5 separate regions of the Homo sapiens genome follow, and all the other regions are linked to region 4. Evidence: promoter capture Hi-C in human tissues and cell types (Jung and others, 2019). All regions are on one chromosome and are shown on one strand. The core of a region is centred on a gene start or on the middle of the fragment in contact, and the rest is flanking DNA. Distances in the headings are between cores, read along the strand shown.

Region 1 (2,700 bases), core at 154-2,653, 340 kb after region 4:
TTTCAGAGCAGAATTGACACTTAGCGAGGGCTTTGTGGATTGTTTAGGACTCCTTTAGCATTCTAGGAGGAGGAAAGGTATGATAAAATTCTTAGAAAATCATAGGGTAATATGAGAGATTTAAATTTCAAAAATGTCTACACTTTCCCGAAATCTTGCCAGCTGTTGTGTAGATGATGAAATGCATATTTAGTAGAGAAAAGACTACTTTACATGTTGCGTCATCTCATACCAATAACACCCAGGAAGACATGCTGTCTAGTTGGTGTCTGAAAAACAGCCTAGAAGTAGCCCCATTTAATTTTGGCAGGCACTGGAAGGCAGTTGCATAAGTGAGCACTGCATGTATGATGCCTTAAAGATGAGAGAAGGATGATGGAAGGAACTGAAGATGGTGAAAGTAATAGGCAAAGAGTAAGTGAGAAATAAGAGGATAACGCTGAAAAGTTAGGCCAGGGTCAGATCCTAAAGGGCCTCATAAGCTAAAATAAATGAGTTATACTTTAATTGAAGAATATGTGAACATGTTTTTCATCTGTGGACACAGTTCAGATTGCTTTTTGTATAGGTCGCCCTTCCTCCTGTGTGTAGAATGGATTGGACGGAAACAAAGTGGTAGGCAAGCAGGCTGTTGCATTAATCCAGGTAAGAGATGGTAGTGTCCTACAGTGGAGACGAAGTGGTCGATTGAAGAAGCAAAAACCCAATCGTTCTTGGTGACTGGTTAGAAGTTGGTGGAGATGGTAACATGAACGGTTCCAAGTGTTTGGCCTTATAGCTGAGTGAAGAGTTGTATGAATCACTGGTGGGAACACAGGACCATTGGTAGGAGCAGGGGAGGTGAAGCTCAGGAATGCTGGGTTCGGCACTAGATATATTCCATTTGAAGTGCTTGGAGAATATGCAGTGAGAGCATCATTAGGCAGCTAAATCTTTGGCTCTGAAACTCAGTAGAGAAGGCTGGGCTGGATGATACAGATTTGAAAATTATTGGTAAAATGATAATGATTGGAAGTAGATAATTTTGCCAACAGGGAGTGGTAGAGTGAGAGACAGCTTATCAGTTGTAATCCTGAAGAACCTGGCTGGTTAGGGAGGAAACTGGCAATGGAAATCTTTGAAAGAAAGAAGAACATGGAGCTGTGGAGAGGGCAGGGAAACCAGGAGAGAGGGATGTCTCTAGAGCCATAGACACAGTTGCTGCCCAGAAAGTCATGTCAAATGGGAGACTTAAGCATCCATTAGCTTTAGGAATAAGGAGATCACTATTCTCCTTGTTGAAGGCAGTTTCAGGAAGGTTGGAGAATGGATGGGAAGCAAGGAAAGAGAGAGCGTGTGTGGAAAACTTCTCCATGGGTCTCAGTTTCCTTGTCCATAATTGAGGTGTGTGGGGTTTTCAGAAGTTGCATGTGAGCTGCCACTGGGCTGTATTCTAATGCAAGTGTGTTTCTGTTTGGCCAATGCAGTCTTCAAAATATATTTCTGTATAGCTGATTACAATTACACATAACCCTTTGTAAATACTTTGGAACAGATAAAAGATTTGTGTCATACCTGGTCTTTGTCTTCTGAGGTTGCTATGTGGCCCAATACTGTCTGGATACACAATCCACATGAATTCTGGTGAAGAATAGCAACCATTATGTAGAATGCTACTATATTTGATATCACTTGATATGCCTGTATAAGACTCTGTTACTAAGTATCATTTAAGATCCAGATGGCAAGAATACTGTGAAAGTAATCTGTGTTTTCAAAGGACTGTGGTTATTGAAACAGAAATCTGCTTTAGTATTTCACACTGGTGGTTCTGGTATTGTGGTGCACACTTTGACTACAGGAACAGTTCCATTCGGTGGGTGTTGTTTGCTTGGGGATCTGATCCTGTAGTGATGACCATTGAGAATGTTGCTGTGCGTTCAGCCATGCACCGCCATGGGTGTTCACTGGGCTTTCTGACCTCTCGTGGCCTTCTTTCGTCCTTTTGATGGTATGGGCTTCCTGTTTCCAGAAACCTCATCTCTCTCAAGAAGATCCTTGATGTGCTTTGAGATTTCACAGTGAGTCCTTAGCAGAAAACACATGGGATGGACCAGGTTGTTCTTGGAATTTAGCTCTTCGGATTTCTGCGTTTTTTTAAATTGTATGAGTCTATGAAAGGTTTTTCACTAAATGGGTTTTGCATAAACATGTCTTTTCTAATTACATATGATAAATGATTTACTCCTCCAAACTTACATATGACTCAAATAGAAGTGGATTCAAGAGTCCATATGACAAATGGGAAGACAAGAGGAGAGGTCTAGAAATCACAGCCTAGAATCTGCAATGGTCAGAGCTAGGAACTCAGCCTCTCCTAAAACCCGTGAGAAAGGGAGGCCCAGAGGGAAAAGGCAGCAGTCTAGACCACACAACTAATCAGCAGCAGAGCCAGAGCCAGATGAGGTCTTAACTACATCTGGCGCTTTTCTGAGCAACAGCATCCTTCAACCCTGTGCCAAAAGCTTAAGCGTAAAATGGAATGACCATTCTCCTCAGATTGTTTCTCTCCTTCACCTTAGCTTTGTTCACCTTTGTGCTTTCTCTTCTGGGCTTCTCCTCTGCCATAAAAAGCACTTAGTTTAAAATTCTTTTATTCTGCCAGCTGTACTCAGAAGTGCCATGGGATAAATGATAGATTGGCAGCTTTGTCATTTACCT
Region 2 (2,700 bases), core at 12-2,511, 270 kb after region 4:
TTTCTTACTCCCTAATTTGATTTGCAGTTATATACTTCTTTTCAAGAGACTTTAGTAGAAAAATCCCAAGGATTTATTATTATGTGCAAAATACTCTCCCAGGTACTGTGGGAGATGTGGGAGACACGTTTTGTGTACTCAGGTTGCTTATAATCTAGAGACGCTGGTGATAAGGACTTAACCCACAATGTGTTTGAAGCCCAGAGAGGAGTGTTGGAGTGAGAGCTGTGAAAGTGTAGAGGGGAGTGGTCGAATCCTGTGCACATAGATGTGAGGACAGGGTTCTCAGAATGGCTGAGATTTAAGCTGGCCCATGGCACGGTTCTGCCAGCCCCCCTTTAGTGTTGTCTCCGCTACTCCCTCCATACTTTCATTTTCTTCCTCTTTTCTACTTGAGATCAGAGGTAACTTACTATGCTCATAGCCTCAAGATCACTTTATTAGGTGAGACTGGAGTATCTGCCCTCCACCCTGCCACCGGAGAGGCAGCATATTATACATTCATTGTAGCACATGTCACCGTGGGTTGGCTGGCACTGTCCCCTGCTCCACAGAGGGTGTACTGGGCCATGGGAATGCGTCAGTGGAGAGAACGTGTCACTCCCCGAAGCCTCTGATGCTTTTCCTTCCTCTTGTGTTTCAGGCATGGGAATTTTCTCCCTCATTTCCATTTTGGCTGGTCCTTTGGTAGATGTGAAATTATTTTGCAAAGCTTAAAAACCATAGTTCTAAAATAAGAAATAACTATAACTACTATAACTAAGTATCAGAGATACAGAAATCTGCATCACACTGCTCTTTTGGTAAATTCCCTTTAATTAACAGGAAAAATAAACACAGTTCTCTTATATGTCTTGTTGTGTTGCAGTAAATTGGCTGGATCACAGCCGAACATTCAGAGAACAAGGAGTAGATGAAAACGAAACGTTGCTGCTTAGACGGAAGTTCTTTTACTCTGATCAGAATGTAGATTCGAGAGACCCCGTGCAGCTGAACTTGCTTTATGTTCAGGTACAGTATTTACTGCTCAGACACTGAGGTTGGTGAGATTGCAGGAAGCTCCTGGCTGTATCTTGTGGCGAGCAGGAGGGCGGCGCTGGCTTCTGCCACATTTATGGCGTCGTTTCCAGCAGGCGCTGCTCGTGGGTCCCCGCATGTGTTTGGTTGTGGTGCAGGTTGATATTCTGGATGAGCAGCTGACCATCCGGAGTAGGGCCTCCCTATGGCTTCCCAGATTGTGTCCTGGTAGCCAACACTGTGTCCCTCTCTGCCGGGCTTTGAGGGACAGTTGTATTTCACTTAACTGGCTCACCATTTCAAGTGCACTAAAGGTTTCTTAGCTGGCATCTTAGAATGCAAGAGAATGTTGGTCAGAAATCAGGACTCTCATTAACTGGAAGATATCCTCTCAATAACCTTTCATGTCTTTACCCTTAACTAATTGTTAAAACTGACAAGTCATTTAACATATCTGAGTTGCGGTTTCCCAGTATGTAAGATGTGGATTGCACTAGATTGTCCCCAAGGTTTCTTGTGGCTCAAGGAAAACATCATCCATCTTTGTCCTCTCCTACCAGCTTCCTTTCTTCCTTTCCTTCCCTCCCTCCCTTTCCTCTCGTTATTTATCCATCTATCTGCCCATAGAAATAATGTAGGGGTTGGCAAACTACAGTCATGCCTTTTGCCTGTACTTGTCAATAAAGTTGTATTGGAACACAGCTTATGTATTCAAGTATTACATATTGATAAATCCCCTTGAGGGTTATGTAATTGTTACACATATCTTCTGTGGCTGTTCTCGCATTCTGGTGACAGAACTCAGTGACAGAGACTGTGTGGCCCAGGAGGTTTGAAATGTTTACTATTTGGCCTTTAGAGAAGTTTCCTGACCCCTGAGTTAGTGGACGGAAGGATGGCATGGAAAGAGGGCTGAGAGGAAAGAAGTGGGGAGGCCAAAAGGAGAGAGATAGCAGGGCAGTGAAAAGATGCTTGTTGGCTTAAGGCTTAGAGTGATAGCTTGGAGTGTCCATCTTAGGGTGATCTGGGGGTCATTTAGAGAAAGGAAAGGCTGAAAAGGTGGGGGGGGGAAGCAACAGCAGTGATGGATGGAGAAACTGGGAGGAGGAGGAGTTCAGACACAACAAGCTCCCCATTTTAGGATGCATTCGCTTGTCATTTCCCCTGCTGTCTTGAGTATTGAGTTCTTGTCTGTGTGTGTGTGTGCCTATCGCCTTTCTTTCTCTTCCTCTATTACATTGGTTTTTATCTGGGGATGGGGGTTGGGTTGATTTTACCTCTAGATATTTGATTAGCTAGCTTTGTGATTTAGGATTGTAAAAAGTACACTGTATTTGTCTTTTGGCCTCTTTGAAGCTGATCATTTCATATGAGTTTCCTTTGCCTCTTTTTATAATCACTTCTGCCTTTCTGGACTGTCATCAGACTTTGCTTTTGCTGTACTGGACACCTCTAATGTTTTCCATCTACAGGCCATTTTGGACAAAAGTTTGTTTTTCTTTTGCCTTAGTTTTCTCCCATGCGGTGATCATCCACTGTGTCCTGCACATGTCACCGTGGGTTGGCTGGCACTGTCCCCTGCTCCACAGAGGGTGTACTGGGCCATGGGAATGCGTCAGTGGAGAGAACGTGTCACTCCCCGAAGCCTCTGATGCTTTTCCTTCCTCTTGTGTTTCAGGCACG
Region 3 (2,700 bases), core at 64-2,563, 290 kb after region 4:
TCATGGGAATTGTCTGTTTTCCTACTAGAGGAAAAGAGGCGTGTTTTTGAAATTGTACCTGTGAGCAAGTCCAGGTTGGCCCTTGATGGGTGTCATCTTCACTTGACTGACAAATCCTCTGGTTATCTTTGTTACCCCTTTGCTTTTCCTAACCTCAGGAAAGTGATACGCTGTTTAGTTGTTTAACTATTAGGTTTCACAGATTTCTGCTTGTTTTGCTTTGACCCCTTTGGCCTCTCGCCTGGGGCCGTGGAGAAAGCTCTAACTTATAGTCAGTCTTCTTGTGTTGCTTTCTGCAAATGGAAGCAAACCAGCCGTGTTGCGGCTGCATCCAGGGACTGAAGTAGGAAGGACAAAACTGACCAGACTAAGAAGGTGTCTTTCCCCACAGCCAAAGAGAACTGCAAAAGAAGAAGTTACGTTGTCCTCTAAGATGTTTTTCTTGACCCCACTCCTCATCGGAGCAAGCTGCCTCATTTGGAGAGAGGAGATACCAAGATGTTATGCATCAGAAAGCCATATACTGCATGCTGATTAGTTATTAATACATTAACCAAACTAGCTCTCAGTTTTACATCCAAAATCGCTGGGGCCTTTGCAATGAAGAACGTATACATCAGTCACCTTGTTTTTAAGAAAAATAATTGAGAGGTCGAATCTTTTACATTTAGTGGCAGTTTTAAAAGATCAGTGAGTATTTAAATGGCACTGGTGCCATCTAGGTAACAGTGACTCCACTTACCAATATTAATAATAACAGCAATAATGTTTAGTAAACAGCCATCCATCAAGCTTATCTCATTCAAAGCTATCAACAACCCAAGGGTAAAACTACTACTACTATCTTCTTTTGTTTTTTGGAGACGGAGTCTCACTCTGTCGCCCAGGCCGGAGTGCAGTGGCGCGATCGTGGCTCATTGAAACCTCTGCCTCCTGGGTTCAAGCCATTCTCCTGCCTCACCCTCCCAAGTAGCTGGGACTACAGGCGCATGCTGCCACACCCGGCTGATTTTTTGTATTTTAGTAGAGACAGGGTTTCACCGTGTTGCCCAGGCTAGTCTTGAACTCCTGAGCTCAGGCAGTCCGCCCACCTTGGCCTCCCAAAGTGCTAGTATTACAGGCGTGAGCCACCGCACCCTATCTTCTTGTATAAGTGAGAACACAGAGCCCCAGCTAGATCCATTGATTCAGTGGGGGCCATAAGGCTAGTAACTGAAGAAGCCAGGACTTGAATTCACGTTTCCCTGATTCACAGATGGTGTTCCCAACCTCTAGCTGTACTGCCTTAGCCGGAGTGACCCCATTTGAGAGGTAGTCACCTGCTTCCACCGTTCTAGCTTCCCATCTGTGCCCTGAACACATGGGGAGATCTGCTCATTTTAGAAGGCGTGCTTTTCATTCATTATTGTGAAGGGCAACCAGTAGTAGATGAGCTCCAATGCCTTGCAGGGACAAAGATTAAACAAATTTTCATCATGTCCACTGATAATGGCATCAATTTCCATTTATTTTCTTGAGTTTCCCTGTAGTCCTTTGAGTATTAAATTCATCTCTTGCATTCAGATCATCTTCCATTAATACCATCAGGCTTCACACAGTCAGTTTCAGTGACGTGCTAAAAAACTGTTGTGCCTCTTGCATGTAGGTCAGTAAATTTAGGATGATAAAGAACATACAGAAATCTGTAATTAGGAAGAGAAGTTGAACACCAAATTGTAGAAAAAATAAATTTGTTCTTCAGTGACAATTTGGAACCTAAGAAAAATCGGTCCATGGTCACCAGGATAATTTGAGAGAGAGCAAAGATCTTCTCATTATAGCAGGGTCTTGCAGGTTTGATCAAACCAAATCTCCTTTTACACAATTATTTAAGGCAAAACAAGAACATGGTAGACTTTTTTTTCCTTTCTTCCTTCCTCCTTCCTTCTCTCTCCCTTTCCTCTCTTTCTTTCCCTTCTTTCTCTTTATTTTTTTTTAAAAATTACATCTCTTTGAAGAGAAGAAAGGATTAAGAAAGTAGGCAGCACTTGCAACTTTTTTTTTTTTTTTGAGACGGAGATTCACCCAGGCTAGAGAGCAATGGCACGATCTCGGCTCACCACAACCTCCGCCTCCTGTGTTCAAGCGATTCTCCTGCCTTAGCTTCCCGAGTAGCTAGGGTTACAGGCATGCACCACCATGCCCAGCTAATTCTGTATTTTTGATAAAGATGGGGTTTCTCCATGTTGGTCAGGCTGGTCTCGAACTCCCTACCTCAGGTCATCCTCCTGCCTTGGCCTCCCAAAGTGCTGGGATTACAGGCGTGAGCCACCACCCCTGGCCAAGCACTTGCAACTTCTATATACATATTAAATATTCAAATTGTTATTAATTTTATTTTTGTTGCTTTCTACAATGTTAATAGCACATTGCTCACTCCAGTGTTTTGCTCAGTGGGCCCATTAGTATGACATTTTATTTTATAATTGTTTTTAATATAATTTATGTGACCATAGTTTGCCTTATTTTAAAAGTGGTATAGCTAAAAAATTCAGGAATGAGTCAATATTAAGAATTAATGAACCTGAATCACATCAAGACTTTAAATAAGATGATATCATATAACTATTTTATATAAAGCCACTAAGGTGTTTGATAAAACTCAACATCCTTTTATTAAAAATTCTTTAAAATGCTGGAATATAAGTGTGCTTGCTCACC
Region 4 (2,785 bases), core at 39-2,538:
CGGTTTATGGTGACAGCAGTTTCTTTCTCTGAGAAACACTAAAAAGTTGCCAGCAGTTCCATTTGAGTAACTGAATAGATTTGCTACCTATTTCCTGGTCCATTCTGTATTGGGATGGAAATAATGTCGTCTTTCCTTTTTTTTTTCTTTTTTGAGACAGAGTCCCGCTCTGTCATCCAGGCTGGAGTGCAGTGGTAGGATCACCGCTCATGCAGCCCCCGAGCTCCCGGGCTCAAGCGATCCTCCCACCATTCTCCCCAGTAACTGGGACTACAGGCATGCGCCCCCACACCCGGCTGATTTTTAATTTTTTTTGTAGAGATAAGGTCTCGCTATATTGCCCAGGCCGATCTTAAACTCCTTGGGCTTGAGATCTTCCTGCTTTGGCCTCCCAAAGTACTAGGAGTAAAGGGGTCATGGCTAATTCTTGTTTTTTTAAATTACTAATGTGTCCCTTACAGATAAATAAAAAAGTAAAATTACTCACAATTCCACCAATCACTGAGAGACTTATTGGTGTTTATCTATCCAGTCTTTTCTGCCTTTCTCCATAAATCACAGTTTTTAAAAACGGGACCATACGGTACATAGTGTTTTGTCTCCTCACCCCCTTGAATAACCTTCACATTGTTCCATGGTATTTACAGTATTTACTAATAATGACTGTAAATGTAAGAGGTATATAACTGACTTTATTCAGGGCATGGCAAGCAGGAGTGAATTATTTTCTTCTTATCAACACAGCACGCCCCTACCGCCACTCATCCCTATAGTCGTTCTCTAAATACCTAAGTGACACCTGACCAGCAAGGTTTCAGGGTCCTTGTGCTGAAAGGAGCAGGCTCGCCTGGGGTCACGGCCCTCCGCTTCGCAGCAAGACCCCACCGCCCACCACGGCCCTCCAGTTAGCCACAGCTCGCTTCCCCCAGGACCGGGCCAGAGGTCCCGAGAGGGCACTCTGCGGACCTAGGGGCCCCAGCCTACAAGACGCTGTGTCCTGCAGTCATCCCCTTTACACAGCAGAGCCCCAATTCTGGGAAGCCGGGGTCACCCCGAGCCTCCCTTCCCCGTGACAGCTCGGCCGGTGCATCACCTTCCCTCGCGGACCCTTTCAGCATCACCACGCGTGGGAGGAAACCCAGGACGGGCGCCTGAGCCTCGGTGGCGGCCCACCCCGGTGCCGCGCGGCGCCGCGGCCGGACCGGCGCCGCGCCGTCCCCGAATGATGACGCGCTTCCTGCCCTCCCAGCGCTCTCGGGCAGTGCGCTCGCGCTCGCCCTCGGCTCTTGTTCCGCGCCCGGAGCCAGCGGCGGCGGCAGCGGCTGAGGCGGCTGCGGGAGCGGAGTGGTCGCCCAGCGCGCGGGGGGACGCGGGCTGCACTCCCGGGCAGGCGCTCTGCAATGAGACAGTAAATGCATCCCCCGGTAAGGCGCACGGCTCACTCGGGTTTTCCTCTTCCTCCAGCTGCATGCACGTTGCATGAATTTCTCGTGTCTTTTCCCTCCCCTCTCCAGAAGGAAAATGTGGGGTTTTTTTTCCTCCCTTTTGCTTCTCGTGAGTGATGCCAATGCAGGAAAAACCCGTAAAGCTCCCAGATTTGATGGTCTAGGAGGGCTTCTTGCAGGAAAATAAAAATAAAATGAAATTAATGCACCTGTCTATTGCACATGTATGTTTCACTGCACCGGACCCGGGCGCAGCGGTTTGCAAACAGCCTCGCAGTCGGCGCCAGAGAGCGGATTCCTGGCCGTGGGCAGCCGGTCCCCTCCGGGGCTCTCGCTGGGTTTCCGGTAACTGGGCTTTGAAAAGCGGCCCCGCCTGCATAGAGTGTCCCCTCGACCCCAGCCGGGCCCCCGCGCCAGAAGAGTTGGCGCTGGAGGAGCAGCTTCATTCCAGCACTGGCCGCCGGGACTCCAGCGCCACTTTGCAAACAAGTCTCCCGCCGAGGCTCTGGGCTAAGACAGCCCGCCAGTGCGGAGTTCCTTCTCCGGTGCCGGACACTCAGACCTGCCGATCCCACGACTGCCCTTTACTTGGCAATCTCGCCACGGGCGAACTGCTGGCCGCTGAGCGACGGGGGCAGTGCCGGGCCGAGAGCGGGGCCAGGCTTTGCATCCAGTGCGGCTGGCCTCACACAGACTCAGCGGCTCCCTCTCCTTCCTCGGTCCCACGAGCTGAAATTTTGCGCCCATTGGAAGCTGGAGGGACCTGGAGACGAGTATTTCGGGATCCCTGAGGGGACCGAGGAACGACTTTCGAGGGCGCCATATTTTCAGTGGGTCTTGACTGCGGAGGGGAGGGGGCGAGCAGTTTCTGGGTCCCGGGGAGAGCCCCGCGCCCCAGTCGGAGAGGCCTGATCGGTTGTCGCCGGGAAAGTTTGCGCGCCGAGGCAGGCGCGGAGGCGGCCGCACAAGGCGCGCACGACTGCTGTCCCCGCAAGGGCGCGCGGACTACAGCGCGTCGCCACGCCAGCCGGCGGGGCTTGGGAACGAGAGCCGCCGTCACGGACAGCGTGCTGGGCTTGCCGCCTTCCTCTGTCCCGCCTGGACCCGGCCTTGGGGCTCCGAGGCTCAGGGAACACGCCCCTCTTCCCCGCAGCTACCGCTGCCCGGGTGCTCAGCCGGAGCCGTGCGCTGGGCGGCGTCCCGGGGCTGGGCGCCGAGTGTAGAGCGTTCTCCCGGTGCCCGGGCTCGCCTGGGTGCTCCGAGGGGCGCAGTAGCTCACTTCCTGGGGGAGAGGAGGCGCCTTGGTTCGTGGATCAGGACCAGGGCCTGGCCTGTGGTCG
Region 5 (2,700 bases), core at 126-2,625, 430 kb after region 4:
ACCCCATTGTCAGAGAAGGCTTGTCTAGTCCCACAAAGGCCATTTGTAGTTTATGTGTGCCCTTAGAGCTACTCCTCGAAGGAATATTATGCAGCTATAATATTATGCAGCTATGAAAAATAATGGTTGCTAGGACTGTGTAGCACGAAGAAAATGCTCATGGTATAACAGAAAGGATGCAGAATTATGTACTTATTATGATTACAACTCTAAAAACTCACAGATGAAGAAAATAAGTAGGGAATGTACAAGAATGATGATGGAATTGGGATGATGGAAGGGTCTGTGTTTTAACATTTTATAAAACAAAGGTTTAAAAAATAACAGCACCTTAAAAATTAATGACTGCTGAAGTAGGCCTGTGAGGACTCCCTACAGTACTCTAGGATCATATAGCCTTTGTGTTTACATTGAGGGTTTTTACAGGAAAGCCAAGGAGTCCTTCGGCCAAGGTCAAGGTTAACATAACTGATGATGTGAATCCTTTGTTTGAGGGTTCCTACCTTAGCTCACTCCCATCGTATTAGGAAGGGTGATGGGTACTTCTAGAATGCTTCACAATGGTCTGAAGTCTTTCTCTGCCTGATGGCCAGAGGTGGATATTATCTATGAAACTGTTTTGGAAAACCTGCAACCCAAACCATAGTTTTTGTGCCTAATAGGGCACATTGCAATAACTTTTGCATGAAATATCTTCCTTGCCTTTATAAAGGAATTTATTTCCCCAATTAAAAAACAATAACAACAATCTGCACCAAAATCAGCCAGTCTTTTGAGTTGAATCACTTCTCTCCATTCTCTCCCAAAACCTTAAAAAAATCCTCAGGGTACTGTCAGTAAACAATTGCTTATTACATCCCTATAACCCTACCCTGGTACACACACATGCCTTCAGTATAAAATGGATGTGTGTTCCTTCTGGGGAGTATTCACACTGCTTTCAGGAAGAGTTTGGGGAGAGACAGTAATTTTGTCTAAAATGCTCTGCTCACCACCGTCTCAGGTTGCCTGTTTTTAAAGGAGAATGGCTCATGGTCTTTGATGATGATTCTGGTACATTTCCACCTCAGGCTCTTAAAACTTAAGCATCACTTTTTGCCTGGGATCTCCCAGACATGCACCGTTGAATCTGCTGTTCACCTGGGGAGATGAGAATGTCAGTGAGCGCTGGTGCATGTGCTGACAGTATTGTTAATGGCGCCGTTTCCACATCTGCAGGCAGACTTGTGCTCCAAAGACAGTTATCGGAGTTGCTGCAAAAGTGACCACCCCCTGCAGCCGTAACCTTCAATACTGTGCCTAGTCTCGAGCTCAGTCAAACCTGGATGCCTTTTCTGCAGGCCTCTGTGTGATATGTTTGATATATTAGGTTGTTATTTAATCCAACTATATATCAAACATATTCCTACAGTGTCTTGCCCTGTCTCCGGGGGTTCCTAATAAAGTTTATAAGGCAACAGGAAAGAACACGTTAAAATCACAAGTAGATTTAGAAGATGGAGCACTCATTACAATTCATGTTATCTTCCATTTCTTCTTATAGCATTTGAGACCTGTATCAGTATTACTGGATTACTTGCTTATTATAGAAACAATAAGTGTTGATGTTTCATAAGAGCCTGGGGTATTCTGTGTGGCTTAGTTTTGTGCAGTGATGAATCCTTAAGGAATTCAATATGCTTGGTGGAAAAAACGGTTCCAACCCATGTCTGTGACACAGAATAAAGGTCAGGATTATAGCCTCAAACACATCTAGATTCATGTTTCATTTTGGTTCATTTTTATCCTGATCTTCAATTTAGAAGTTCATGTCAGGGTTTCAGCAAAAATTCAAGGAGCACAGATCAGTTTTCTATGACTTCCCTTTCCACTCACAGTAACAGAATGTATAAAGCAAATCCTCCATACCAGCTGCATGGATACTGAGTCAGTGAGCTTTGTACAAACCTTGGATATAGGACTAAATATATCTCATGAAGGTAATATAATGTTGACTGAACTCTTGAATTTCCTGTTATAGGTTAACTTGTCAGTGGAGGTTGGTAATATTTAGAATAAGCCAACAATCGGAAAGTAATATCATAGCCTAATTGACTGTGGCAGGAAGTTTGGGATTATGATATAGAAAACATTTTTTCTGGTACATAACAGCCTTCTTTGGTTGGTTTTGACCTCTTCCTTATAGAAAAGCCTGTGAAGTATGTGTGAGTTCATTCTGAGTTCTCTCAACAAACAAAATACTTTGTGAGCACTGCTTTCTGGAAAGAGAACTACTGTTCTCAATGTTTTGGAGGAGAAAAGGTGTAAGCAAATGGTTTAAACAGGTAGTCATGAAAGCTTCCCCTTACTGTGTCTAGAAGTCATTGCCACATTGCTTACAGGTGAATGCATAGTGACAGGGTCACCAACAGCAACATCAGAGAGGTGATGACACAGGAGAGGGTCCTGTAATGTTGGAGTCCTGGCTTCTGGAGTTACATAATGGATCCTGTCTCTGGAATCCTTCTCCATTGAGAAGCGATCTGTGTGTGTTGGCAGGTGCTCTGTCAGGCGGGTTTCAAGATGCTGCCCCAATCAGTCCCTCCTTCACACAGCTAGAGAACACCGGCTTTGGTTTTGAGTCCAGTTACATTGTTTGACTGAAATGGCAAATGGCCATGGAAAAGAGACAGCAAGTTATTACGAACAAAGAAAAACATG

Evidence for each region. Contacts are between HindIII fragments. The study calls those that stand out against the background at their distance.
Region 1: a contact is called between a fragment that was not itself captured here and the fragment with the promoter of TLN2 in region 4, in 1 of the 25 tissues and cell types used here (heart left ventricle).
Region 2: a fragment that was not itself captured here is called in contact with the fragment with the promoter of TLN2 in region 4 in 4 of the 25 tissues and cell types used here (bladder, hippocampus, mesenchymal stem cells and 1 more).
Region 3: a contact is called between a fragment that was not itself captured here and the fragment with the promoter of TLN2 in region 4, in 2 of the 25 tissues and cell types used here (aorta and thymus).
Region 5: a fragment that was not itself captured here is called in contact with the fragment with the promoter of TLN2 in region 4 in 1 of the 25 tissues and cell types used here (hippocampus).

What each region holds. Positions count from the first base shown.
Region 1 is chr15:62,732,032-62,734,731 of GRCh38, forward strand. All of the region lies in intron 28 of TLN2 (talin 2), which reads left to right. Among named protein-coding and RNA genes, the nearest start is that of MGC15885, 88 kb to the left of the region's middle. The HindIII fragment of the contact is 4,474 bases long and covers 1-2,700 here.
Region 2 is chr15:62,655,076-62,657,775 of GRCh38, forward strand. It overlaps TLN2 (talin 2), which reads left to right. Exons shown (of 59, transcript NM_015059.3): 8 at 869-1,011; 9 at 2,696-2,700. Among named protein-coding and RNA genes, the nearest start is that of MGC15885, 11 kb to the left of the region's middle. The HindIII fragment of the contact is 3,891 bases long and covers 1-2,700 here.
Region 3 is chr15:62,675,773-62,678,472 of GRCh38, forward strand. The region is part of intron 11 of TLN2 (talin 2); the gene reads left to right. The region is part of intron 3 of LOC105370855 (a long non-coding RNA gene); the gene reads right to left. Among named protein-coding and RNA genes, the nearest start is that of MGC15885, 32 kb to the left of the region's middle. The HindIII fragment of the contact is 4,628 bases long and covers 1-2,700 here.
Region 4 is chr15:62,389,262-62,392,046 of GRCh38, forward strand. TLN2 (talin 2) reads left to right here and starts at 1,289. Exons shown (of 59, transcript NM_015059.3): 1 at 1,289-1,424. RefSeq lists enhancers at 709-778, 1,697-2,311 and silencers at 945-1,141, 1,189-1,518. The HindIII fragment of the contact is 23,885 bases long and covers 1-2,785 here.
Region 5 is chr15:62,822,622-62,825,321 of GRCh38, forward strand. All of the region lies in intron 54 of TLN2 (talin 2), which reads left to right. It overlaps MIR190A (microRNA 190a), which reads left to right and starts at 1,336; the gene lies at 1,336-1,420. The HindIII fragment of the contact is 5,416 bases long and covers 1-2,700 here.